Regions from separate parts of the Homo sapiens genome. Here regions 1, 2 and 3 are each linked to region 4. Evidence: promoter capture Hi-C in 16 types of primary human blood cells and fetal thymus (Javierre and others, 2016). All regions are on one chromosome and are shown on one strand. The core of a region is centred on a gene start or on the middle of the fragment in contact, and the rest is flanking DNA. Distances in the headings are between cores, read along the strand shown. Region 1 has its middle 20 kb from the start of FRAT2. Region 2 overlaps RRP12 (ribosomal RNA processing 12 homolog). Region 3 holds the start of FRAT1 (FRAT regulator of Wnt signaling pathway 1). Region 4 holds the start of AVPI1 (arginine vasopressin induced 1).

Region 1 (2,700 bases), core at 133-2,632, 330 kb before region 4:
ATCACGCTTGGCTAATTTTTTGTAGAGACAAGGACTCACTATATTGCCCAGGCCAGTCTCAAACTCCTGGGCATAAACGATACTCTCGCCTCAGCCTCCCAAAGTGTTGGGATTACAGGTGTGAGCCATTGTGCCTGGCCTTACATTTTTTCCTTAATTAAAAAAAAAATAGCCCTACGTATATTAAGAAAAAAAAGAATGAAATGCACTAGTAATAACAGAATTTGGTGGAAGGATTTTAGCCCCTACTTTTACTTTTGTTTTTTCCAAATGTTCTGGGAATCTTTATCACTTTTGTAGTGAAATATATACGATTTTAATTTTTAAAATTACCCTTTGAGGAAACATAAGCAACCAAGAAAGAAAAAATGGGGAAAGGACTCTGAGGACTGAAAACAGGCTACCTGAACTTCATAAGCAATTTTGTTACATGTTGCAAACAGTACAGAAAAAACACCCTTCTTGGGACTGATCATGCTGTAAGTAGGACTAGCTCTAAAGATGGCCACTGGCAGGAATGAACTGCCAGGACAGTCCCCACCAAGCCTTCTGCCACAATCACGAGAAGGGAAATAGTGAAGGGGCAAGGTCAGTTTAACCTGACTCACCCATGGCCAGAAGTGTCACAATGTGGACATGACTAGACCGCCTTTGCAAATCCCCAAAGCTTGACCACTCCCTTGGCCAACTGCAGGGTTGCGGTTTTCGTAGTCAAGCAGGGTAGGACCTGTTTTCCATTTCTGAGAATGAGTGGAGGATGGACCCCAGAAAAGCAAGCCTCAGATTGACATTCCCAAAAGCACAAATTGAAAATCTGGAGAGTGAGAGCTCTCAACTTTCCTATTCACCCTAAAATTGGATGAATCTTTTGTTGATGAACACTCCTAAGACTCTCTTTCGCCACACTGTTGAAACAACACTGACTTTGTTTTTTTTTTTTTGAGACAGAGTTTCGCTCTTGTCACCCAGGCTGGAGTGCAAAGGCGCGCTCTCAGCTCACTGCAACCTCCGCCTCCCGGGTTCAAGCAATTCTCCTGCCTCAGCCTCCCGAGTAGCTGGGACTAGTGTGTGCCTCCACACCCAGCTAATTTTGTATTTTTAGTAGAGACAGGGTTTCACCATGTTGGCCAGGCTGGTCTTGAACTCCTGACCTCAGGTGAGCCACCTGCCTTGGCCTCCCAAAGTGCTAGATTACAGGTGTGAGTGATTGCGCCCGGCCTCAAGAACACTGACTTTCAAAATACACCTGAAGTTTCAGGGTGAAGATTAATTCTTGCCTCTGCATCAAGATCACTTGCATTTGAAGTCTACTTCCAAAAGAATATGGCATTCAGCACATCACTAACACCAACCTTTCTAGGTCACCTGCCTTTCCCATCTTTAAAAGAAAACAAAGTTCCTTGGAAAATGTGCTATATATAACAAGGAGGTTGGCTTCACGCTTTCTTTTTTTTTTTTTTTTGAGATGGCGTTTCACTCTTGTTGCCCAGGCTGGAGTGCAATGATGCGATCTCAGCTCACCCCAACCCCTGCCTCCCGGGTTCAAGTGATTCTCCTGCCTCAGCCTCCCGAGTAGCTGGGATTACAGGCATGCACCACCATGCCTGGCTAATTTTGTATTTTTAGTAGAGATGGGGTTTCTCCATGTTGGTCAGGTGATCCACCCGCCTCGGCCTCCCAAAGTGCTGGGATTGCAGGTATGAGCCGTGCCTGGCCTTTTTTTAAAAAACAAACAAACAACACCAATAAGCTGGGCGCAGTGGCTCACGCCTGTAATCCCAGAACTTTGGGAGGCCAAGGTGGGCGGATCACAAGGTCAGGAGTTCGAGACCAGCCTGGCCAACATGGTGAAACCCTGTCTCTACTAAAAATACAAAAATTAGCTGGGCGTGGTGGCGGGTGCCTGTAATCACAGCTACTCAGGCGGCTGAGGCAGGTGAATTGTGTGAACCTGGGAGGCAGAGGTTGCAGTAAGCTGAGATCACGCCATTGCATTCCAGCCTGGGTGACAGGGCAAGACTCTGTGAAAACAAACAAACAAACAAAAAACAAAACACCAATGCTGGGCAATTGGCTCATACCCCTATCTACTTTACACAAAGCTTCCCAGTGCACGTGGTCACATTTCCTGAGAAAGGAAACAGGAAGGACTGGGCTTGGCTTACTTCGGCCCAACTTGTGTCCAGAAGTGTAACAACGGGGAGTATGGTTAGATCCCCTCTGCAAATCTCTCCTAGCCACTCCTGACCACCTTTCTTGCTTGCTCTCCAATTCTAGATTTCTGTGAACAAGGCATGTAAACAGTGCCACCTCTGGGCCGAGTGTGGTTCCTTTCAGCTTTTCCTAGCCCCAAATCATTGGGAGGAAATGCCCTAATTTGGGGAGCGCCAGATCCAATTAAGACTTGGGTCCCCTTAGATAATGAGTGGAAGAGTGTGGTGGGACAGGCTGCCAGGAGGTGCACAGGGCCTCCTGGGACCATTATCAGAGCCAAGTGCCTTAAACTAGAATGGAAACGAGGAATGTGTGCATGTGCTCGCCTCACGTTGGGAGGATCTGAGATGGGAAGAATGTATCAGTCAGGTGCTAGGGCACAAAGCACACTCATACTGGGGTGTGGGAACAGTGCTGGGGTTCTTTGCTTCTGGCTGCCTGTGGGATTGTATCCACATGAGGGGACCTGGGCTGACAGGACAGTGA
Region 2 (2,700 bases), core at 12-2,511, 290 kb before region 4:
CTGACCTCAAGTGATCTGCCCGCCTCGGCCTCCCAAAGTGCTAGGATTACAGGCGTGAGCCACCTCGCCTGGTATATTATTATTATTTTAAAAAGATTTTTCAATCCATGCTTGGTTGAATCTGCAGGTGCAGAACCCGCAAATATAGAGACCTGACTGTATCATTATATAATAATGAAAAATTTAAATAGTGCATTATTCAAAAGAATGAGAACAACTATATATTAACTTATAAATATCGTTCAGTAGGGAAAAAGTTGCAGAACAGTGGATAAAAAATAAACTAATCAAGCAGGGCACAATGGCTCACACCAGTAATCCCAACACTTTGGGAGGCTCAGGTGGGCAGATCCCTTGAGCCCAGGAGTTCAAGACCAATCTGGGCAATATGGCAAACCCCATCTCTACAAAAAATACAAAAATTAGCTTGGTATGGTAGCACTCCCCTGTAGTCCCAGCTACTTGGGAATTGGAAGGCTGATCAGCCACTGCACTCTAACCTGGGTGACAAAGTGAGACTCTGTCTGAAAAAAAAGAAAAGAAAAGAAAAGAAACTAATCACATTTTGGTAAACCTAAATAACAAAATTGGGTAAAAAAAAATACGTATATATATATACATATATATATATATATGTATATATATATACGTATTTTTTTTTTTTTTTTTTTTTTTTTTGAGATGGAGTCTCGCTCTGTTGCCCAGGCCGGACTGCGGACTGCAGTGGCGCAATCTCGGCTCACTGCAAGCTCCGCTTCCCGGGTTCACGCCATTCTCCTGCCTCAGCCTCCCGAGTAGCTGGGACTACAGGCGCCCGCCACCGCGCCCGGCTAATTTTTTGTATTTTTAGTAGAGACGGGGTTTCACCTTGTTAGCCAGGATGGTCTCGATCTCCTGACCTCATGATCCACCCGCCTCGGCCTCCCAAAGTGCTGGGATTACAGGCGTGAGCCACCGCGCCCGGCCTTTTTTTTTTTTTTTTTTGAGACAGAGTCTCGTTCTGTCACCCAGGCTGAAGCGCAGTGGTGCGATCTTGGGTCGCTGCAACCTCTGCCTCCAGGGTTCAAGTGATTCTCGTGCCTCAGCTTCCCAAGTAGCTGGGATTACAGGCGCATGCCACCATGCCAGGCTAATTTTTTAGTAGAGATGGGTTTTCACCATGTTGGCCAGGCTGGTCTCAAACTCTTGACCTCAAATGATCTGCCCACCTCGGCCTCCCAAAGTGCTAGGATTACAGGTGTAAGCCACTATGTCCAGCCTGAAAATTTAGTTTTTAAATTTCAACTACTCATAATTTAAAATATTTGATCTATTTACTAGAAAACATATATTTGTAACAACCTGGCAAATAGGTTCGTAGTAATTCATAGTAGGCAAATCTACTTGTACAACCATAAATGTTATGAACTCTAAATAGACACAAATCAAGTATTTCCAATGAAAATTTAGCATCTAAGTAGGGGTATATGGGTAAATTATACACTAGATTTTGAAGACTTGGTATCATAAAAATAATGCTGTAGTAAAATATACTGATTATACATTGAAGTGATAATATTTTAAAGATACTGAGTTAAATAAAGTACATTATTAAGATTAATTTGGGCCGGGCGCAGTGGCTCACACCTGTAATCCCAGCACTTTAGGAGGCCGAGGCGGGTGGATCACCTGAGGTCAGGAGTTTGAGACCAGCCTGACCAACATGGAGAAACCCTGTCTCTATTAAAAACAGAAAATTAGCCGGGCATGGTGGCGCACGCCTCTAATCCCAGCTACTCGGGAGGCTGAGGCAGGAGAATCACCTGAACCCAGGAGGCGGAGGTTGCAGTGAGCCGAGATCGTGCCATTGCACTCTAGCCTGGACAACAAGAGCGAAACTCCGGCTCCAGAAAAAAATAAAAAGATGAATTTATTTTACCTGTTTCTTTCAGTTTTTAATATGGCTACTAAACATTTTTAAATTACATATGTGGCTTGAATTTAGATTACTATTGGACAGAGCTGGTCCAGGAAGACAGACAATGACCCATTAACAGGAGCTCTGTGAATGATTCAAGTTGGGGGATCTACCATCACATTATATTATTCTTATATCATTTTGATATCATTTAGAATTTTGACATTTTTTATTTCAATAACAAAAAATATATATAACTTTATAGTATAGATAAAATAATAAAAGTAAGGCCAGGCACGGTGGCTCATGCCTGTAATCCCAGCATTTTAGGAGGCCAAGGTGGGCGGATTACCTGAGTTCAGGAGTTTGAGACCAGCCTGGCTAACATGGTGAAACCCCGTCTCTACTAAAAATACACACACACAAAAAATTAGCTACTTGAATAATGCACTATTTAAATATACTAAAAAAAAAAAAAAAAAAATTAGCCGGGCGTGGTGGCACATGCCTGTAATGGCAGCTACTTGGGAGGCTGAGGCAGGAGGATTGCTTGGGCCTGGGAGATGGAGGTTGCAGTGAGTGAAGATTGCGCTACTGCACTCCAGCCTGGCCAACAGAACGAGACTCTGTCTCAAAATAAATACATGAATTAAGTTAAATTAAAGTAAATAAATTTAGTTCTTGCTAGATAAAACGTTTCCTAATCACTGTTACTCAGCATTTATTTACTCAACATATGTTTATTGAAAATACTCTGTGTAAAAGTGCTGTGTTAGGTATAGCTGAGGAGAGAAATGTTTGGA
Region 3 (2,700 bases), core at 57-2,556, 370 kb before region 4:
CCTACTGGTCTGAGGCTTTTTTTTAAACAACTTTCTGGACATAGCCCCTCTTAAGACTAACAACCTATAGCCAGGCGTGGTGGCTCACGCTTGTAATCCCAGGATTTTGGGAGGCCGAGGCAGGTGGATCACCTGAGGTCGGGAGTACCAGACCAGCCTGACCAATATGGAGAAACCCCATCTCTGCTAAAAACACAAAATTAGGCTGGGCATGGCGGCGCATGCCTGTAATCCCAGCAACTCGGGAGGCTGAGGCAGGAGAACTGCTTGAACCCAGGAGGCGGAAGTTGTGGTGAGCGGAGATTGCGCCATTGTACTCCAGCCTGGGCAACAAGAGCGAAACTCTGTCTCAAAAAAACAAAACAAAACAAAAAGAGTAGCAACCTAGGCCGGGCGCAGTGGCTCACGCCTGTAATCCCAGCACTTTGGGAGGCTGAGGCGGGTGGATCACCTGAGGTCAGGAGTTCGAGACCAGCCTGGCCAACATGGTGAAACCCCGTCTCTACTAAAAATACAAAAATTAGCCGGGCGTGGTGGTGGGCGCCTGTAATCCCAGCTACTCGGAAGGCTGAGGCAGGAGAATTGCTTAAACGCAGGAGGCGGAGGTTGTAGTGAGTGGAGATCGAGCCACTGCACTCCAGCCTGGGCGATAGAGCGAGACTCCGTCTCAAAAAAACAAACAAACAAATAAACAAAAAGACTAGCAACCTCCTCTCCAGCAATGCCAACCCCAGTCCAGGCCCCCATCCGCCCAGGATCTCGATCAAAAAACATTAATCTGTGGCCTTTCTTTGCCATTTCCAACTCTGCCACCTCCATCGAACGACAAGGTCCCCTTCTTCCTTTCCATTCCCGTCAGCTTCATTTCCCTAATCTCCGTACAAATCCCTAGCCTGACTCCCTTTCCTTTCCATCCTCACCAGACGCCCGCATGCCGGACCTCAAAAGCGCAAACGCTAAAAACCGGTTGAGTTGACGCACGGAGAGAAGGGGTGTGTGGGTGGGTGGGTGTGTGTTAGTGTGCGTGCTTGCTTGTGTGTGGAAGAAACCAACAGGGTTCACGCTGGTGCCCATTTCTGGAAATGCCAATCGCGCCCGACTGCGGGAGCCAGGATCAGGTCCCCAGGGCGCCCTTGCAGACAGCACCCTGAGCGAAGGAGCTCAGAAGGCAGTCCGGCTTCACCCAGACCCCCAATCCCACAGAAGCGCCGTCCCCCAGCGGCACAGCACCCCCTCCCCGGCGCGGTGGTAGGGCCCGACGTGACGTCACCCATTGTTTACAAATCAACCCGAGCCGGCAGGATTCCGGCTCCCGCGGCTGCAGGCGCGCGGCTAGAGTGCCTGGCGGGCTCCGGCTTCCGCGTCCGCCCCGGCCCCGGTCCAGACTTAGTCTTCAGCTCCGCGCCCGCTCCGCCGCGGCCCACCGCGCCCGCCGGCAGCCGAGCCCCCAGCGACGCCCGCACAGCTCCGGGTGCCCAGACAGGGGGCCATGCCGTGCCGGAGGGAGGAGGAAGAGGAAGCCGGCGAGGAGGCGGAGGGGGAGGAAGAGGAGGAGGACAGCTTCCTCCTACTGCAGCAGTCAGTGGCGCTGGGCAGCTCGGGCGAGGTGGACCGGCTGGTGGCCCAGATCGGCGAGACGCTGCAGCTGGACGCGGCGCAGCACAGCCCGGCCTCGCCGTGCGGGCCCCCGGGGGCGCCGCTGCGGGCCCCGGGGCCCCTGGCTGCGGCGGTGCCGGCGGACAAGGCCAGGTCCCCGGCGGTGCCGCTGCTGCTGCCGCCCGCGTTGGCGGAGACTGTGGGCCCGGCGCCCCCTGGGGTCCTGCGCTGCGCCCTGGGGGACCGCGGCCGCGTGCGGGGCCGCGCTGCGCCCTACTGCGTGGCCGAGCTCGCCACAGGCCCCAGCGCGCTGTCCCCACTGCCCCCTCAGGCCGACCTTGATGGGCCTCCGGGAGCTGGCAAGCAGGGCATCCCGCAGCCGCTGTCGGGTCCGTGCCGGCGAGGATGGCTCCGGGGCGCCGCCGCCTCCCGCCGCCTGCAGCAGCGACGCGGGTCCCAACCAGAAACCCGCACAGGCGACGACGACCCGCACCGGCTTCTGCAGCAGCTAGTGCTCTCTGGAAACCTCATCAAGGAGGCCGTGCGAAGGCTTCATTCGCGACGGCTGCAGTTACGTGCAAAGCTTCCCCAACGCCCGCTCCTGGGACCTCTGTCGGCCCCGGTGCATGAACCCCCTTCGCCTCGCAGCCCTCGCGCGGCCTGCAGTGACCCTGGCGCCTCCGGGAGGGCGCAGCTCAGAACTGGCGACGGCGTTCTTGTGCCTGGCAGCTAACACGCCCGGGGTGGCCACAGCGCCAGCCTCAGACTGGAGGGCAAGGGGTTCCCTTGAGGGCTGCAGTTCTACTCAGGCTGGTGGAGAACTCTGGCTTTTGGAAGCGAGAGTAAAAAGCTAATGACGAGGAACCGAAAAATCGCGAGTGTTTCGCGGGTAACTGGGGTTGAGGGCCAAAATATTTGGAATGAAGGACTTTGGCCCTATTTAAGGCAGATTTTACAGAGCGCACCTCAAACGTACAAGTCAGTAGGACTCCTTATTTGGCGTGACCCGACCTGGCCGCGGAGCCTGCATTTCCTCGCAGCCTCTCAGTGCCCTCCAGCCCCGCGACCATGTGGCCACAATCCACGCTTCTCCGGATCGCGGTG
Region 4 (2,700 bases), core at 141-2,640:
ATATGACCTGGAAATAAACTGCTACTAGATCTAGGGATAACCCTTTCAAGATTTCTAGAACCCTGAATTCTGGCTGTGCTGCTAACTGGGTGACCTTGGATAAGTCTCAGTTTCCCCTGCCACAAGTTGCTCGTCATCAAAATAGTATAAGGCCAGGCCTGGTGGCTCACGCCTGTAATCCCAGCACTTTGGGAGGCTGAGGTGGGAGGATTGCTTGAGCCCAGGAGTTCCAGACCAGCCTGGTCAACATAGCAAGACTGCCTCTATAAAATTTTAAATAAGCTTTTTAAAATAAATGGTGAGTATAAATAACTCTTAACAGGAAAAGGGAGATTAAGTTTGTGACGGCATTCCTTCTAGTACCTGGTATACCACAGACATTCTATGCATGCTGGTTGAATGAATAAATGATGAAGGGAAAGGCTGTTTGACTACCAGGGGCTATAGAATCATTGTCATTTTCATCATCACAGCCATCAACAAATCTGTGTACTTTTAAATCATAGCTTTATGATTAAAATCATAGAGGCAGCTTGTTCAGTGTCAAGCGCAGAACAGAGCACGTTCAGATGGGTGCTTTCTTTCCTCCTCACTTAAGGTGGCACTATTGTTATACCCATTTTACAGATGAGAAAGCTACACCCAAAGTCACACAGCTGGCAGGTGATGGAAGCTGGGACATGAACCCAGGCAGTCTGACCCCAGCACCCGGGCTCTCAAGCCACTGTTATTTTTGTTCCTGCCAGATGGCTGAGGAGGTCTTCTGGGGAAGGTCGGTCCCAGAAGCCTTTCGGAGGCTATCTGCTTCTGTAGATTGTGGAAGGAGCAGGGAGGGATCCAAAGTCAGGACTCCCAAGCTAGCCTCTGTACCCTCTGCACTCCACTGCCCGGTGGAGAATTGGAGCAGGTACTCACCACACTGAAGGGCAGCTCCGACAGACCTCAAATGGGGATGGGGCAAGCTAAGATGCGCCCACTCCAACCTCTTCCACAGCCTTCAGAAAGGGCAGGCGCAGCTCTGCGAAGGTGCTTACAAGGGCCAGTCGGTGATCACGGGCAGCACAAGAGCATGGCAGAGGGTATCCTGGCCGAGGTCCTAAGGCGACATCTGCAGCACGAGGAGGCCCCGGGACTCAGACGTGGCCGCTTCGCAGAACGACGGGGTCCTAAGTGGATCTGGCGGTCGCGTCCCGCTGGCACCCCGGCTCTGACTGTCGCCCTCCGGCTCCCACCGCAGCGCCGAGCTGGGCCGCCGACCTACGTACCTGGTTGCTTGAGGCAGGCCGCACGCAGCCCCAAACTGGTCCGGGCCACTTGGGTCACAGCCGCGGTTCCCGGGAGAAAGCGCTCCCTAGCCCCGGAACAGCCAATCCTCGGCCCTAGCCAGGTATGAGCTCCCAGGCGAGCCTTCCAAACCCAAGGCGGAGTTCCGTGCGCCAATCATCGGTGGGAGACAGGGAGGGGGCGTGTCCATCCCCGCCCCCCGCCTCCGCTGGCCTCGAAAGCGGAGTGCGAAGCTTCCTCAAACCTAATCGGCGGCGGAGCGGCGGTGAGGGGGCGTGTCTGCCCGGGCCCTGCCCACCGCCCTCTCCGCCCCCGCGCGGCGCCCGAGGCGCCCCCTTCATTGACGTCAGTCCCCAGGGCCAGCGCGGTTTTGCTGGCGCGGGAGCTGGGCGGGGCTGCATTCCTGCCCCAGGGTGCGGCGAAAGCTGGCCCTGCCGGGTACACGTGACGGATGCCCCTTCTCCTGGGCCCGAGGCCAGCGCGCGCGGCACTGACTGCCTTGCAGCGCGTGGCCCTCTGCAGATCCTCAGACTCTGCCGCTCAAGTCCCCTCCCAGCCCACCGTTTGGCTCCGGCTTTGAGGGAGAGGAGGGGGCAGTCTGCTGGAGTCAGACCTTGGGCTTCAAAGCCAGAATGTCGTGGGTTCAAATATTGGGTCATTTGTGCGACTTTGGGCCGGTTACCTAAACAAGACCGTATTTTAAAGTTTGTATGCATTCGGAAATGTTCATTAGTGACCTATGCTGTCCGAGTTCCTTGATAGGCCGTAAACAAGAGAGACGGAAAGACCTATAGCCCTTGTCCTGGGGAGTCTACAGCCTAGTAAGGGAGGCAGGCATTAAACAACCTAAAACATGGAGTATGTGATTACAGTTGTGATCAATGTTATGGCTATAAGAGGATAAATATGGAGGAACCTAAGCTTCCTCTGGGAGGTTCAGGAGGGCTGAAGAAGCAGCATTTAAGCTGAGATATAAAGAAGGAGTTGAAACTGGTCAAATGAAGAGGAGTGGATCTGGGGAGACTGCTTTAAGGAAAGAGGGAAAGGCATTTGGTTGGGCCAGGAGGTAGCTTGGCTCCGGAGGAATTAAATGCGACCCGGAGTAAGGCTAGCAAGAGAGAGCACGGTGGGAAGTAGAAGGCAGAGGCAGGCAGAGAAGGTTGCATGTGATCCTTGGAGGGGTTTAAACAAGGAATGGCATTATATGTACTGTGTTTATGTAACGGGCATTTTATAGTACTTACCACGTACCAGTAGTGTCAGTCAGCACTTTGCAAATTTCATCATCATGACAAGTTTGTGTTTTTAGAAGGTCACTCTGGCTGCAGTTTGGAACTTGGATTGGAGGGGGCAGGAGTGGAGGCAGGGTGTCCAGTAGGCCTCTGATAAATGCTTGTTTTGTCCTTGGAAGATGAA

What was found. Contacts are between HindIII fragments. The CHiCAGO score rates a contact against its expected background, and 5 or more counts as called.
Region 1: a fragment that was not itself captured here is called in contact with the fragment with the promoter of AVPI1 in region 4 in 1 of 17 cell types (M0 macrophages); the score reaches 5.2 in M0 macrophages.
Region 2: a contact is called between a fragment that was not itself captured here and the fragment with the promoter of AVPI1 in region 4, in 1 of 17 cell types (naive CD4 T cells). The highest score is 5.4, in naive CD4 T cells.
Region 3: a contact is called between the fragment with the promoter of FRAT1 here and the fragment with the promoter of AVPI1 in region 4, in 9 of 17 cell types (erythroblasts, M0 macrophages, total CD4 T cells and 6 more). The highest score is 8.7, in erythroblasts.

The regions. Positions count from the first base shown.
Region 1 is chr10:97,353,537-97,356,236 of GRCh38, forward strand. No RefSeq gene overlaps it. Among named protein-coding and RNA genes, the nearest start is that of FRAT2, 20 kb to the left of the region's middle. The HindIII fragment of the contact is 1,435 bases long and covers 666-2,100 here.
Region 2 is chr10:97,397,388-97,400,087 of GRCh38, forward strand. The region is part of intron 2 of RRP12 (ribosomal RNA processing 12 homolog); the gene reads right to left. Among named protein-coding and RNA genes, the nearest start is that of RRP12, 2.6 kb to the right of the region's middle. The HindIII fragment of the contact is 7,404 bases long and covers 1-2,700 here.
Region 3 is chr10:97,317,965-97,320,664 of GRCh38, forward strand. FRAT1 (FRAT regulator of Wnt signaling pathway 1) reads left to right here and starts at 1,307. Exons shown (of 1, transcript NM_005479.4): 1 at 1,307-2,700. The coding sequence starts at 1,490. The coding sequence ends at 2,329. RefSeq lists enhancers at 621-1,410, 1,148-1,442, 2,532-2,691 and silencers at 1,282-1,591, 2,092-2,191. The HindIII fragment of the contact is 4,234 bases long and covers 1-2,177 here.
Region 4 is chr10:97,685,851-97,688,550 of GRCh38, forward strand. AVPI1 (arginine vasopressin induced 1) reads right to left here and starts at 1,391. Exons shown (of 3, transcript NM_021732.3): 1 at 916-1,391. RefSeq lists enhancers at 528-1,481, 1,215-2,414, 1,482-2,435 and a silencer at 1,378-1,757. The HindIII fragment of the contact is 1,235 bases long and covers 281-1,515 here.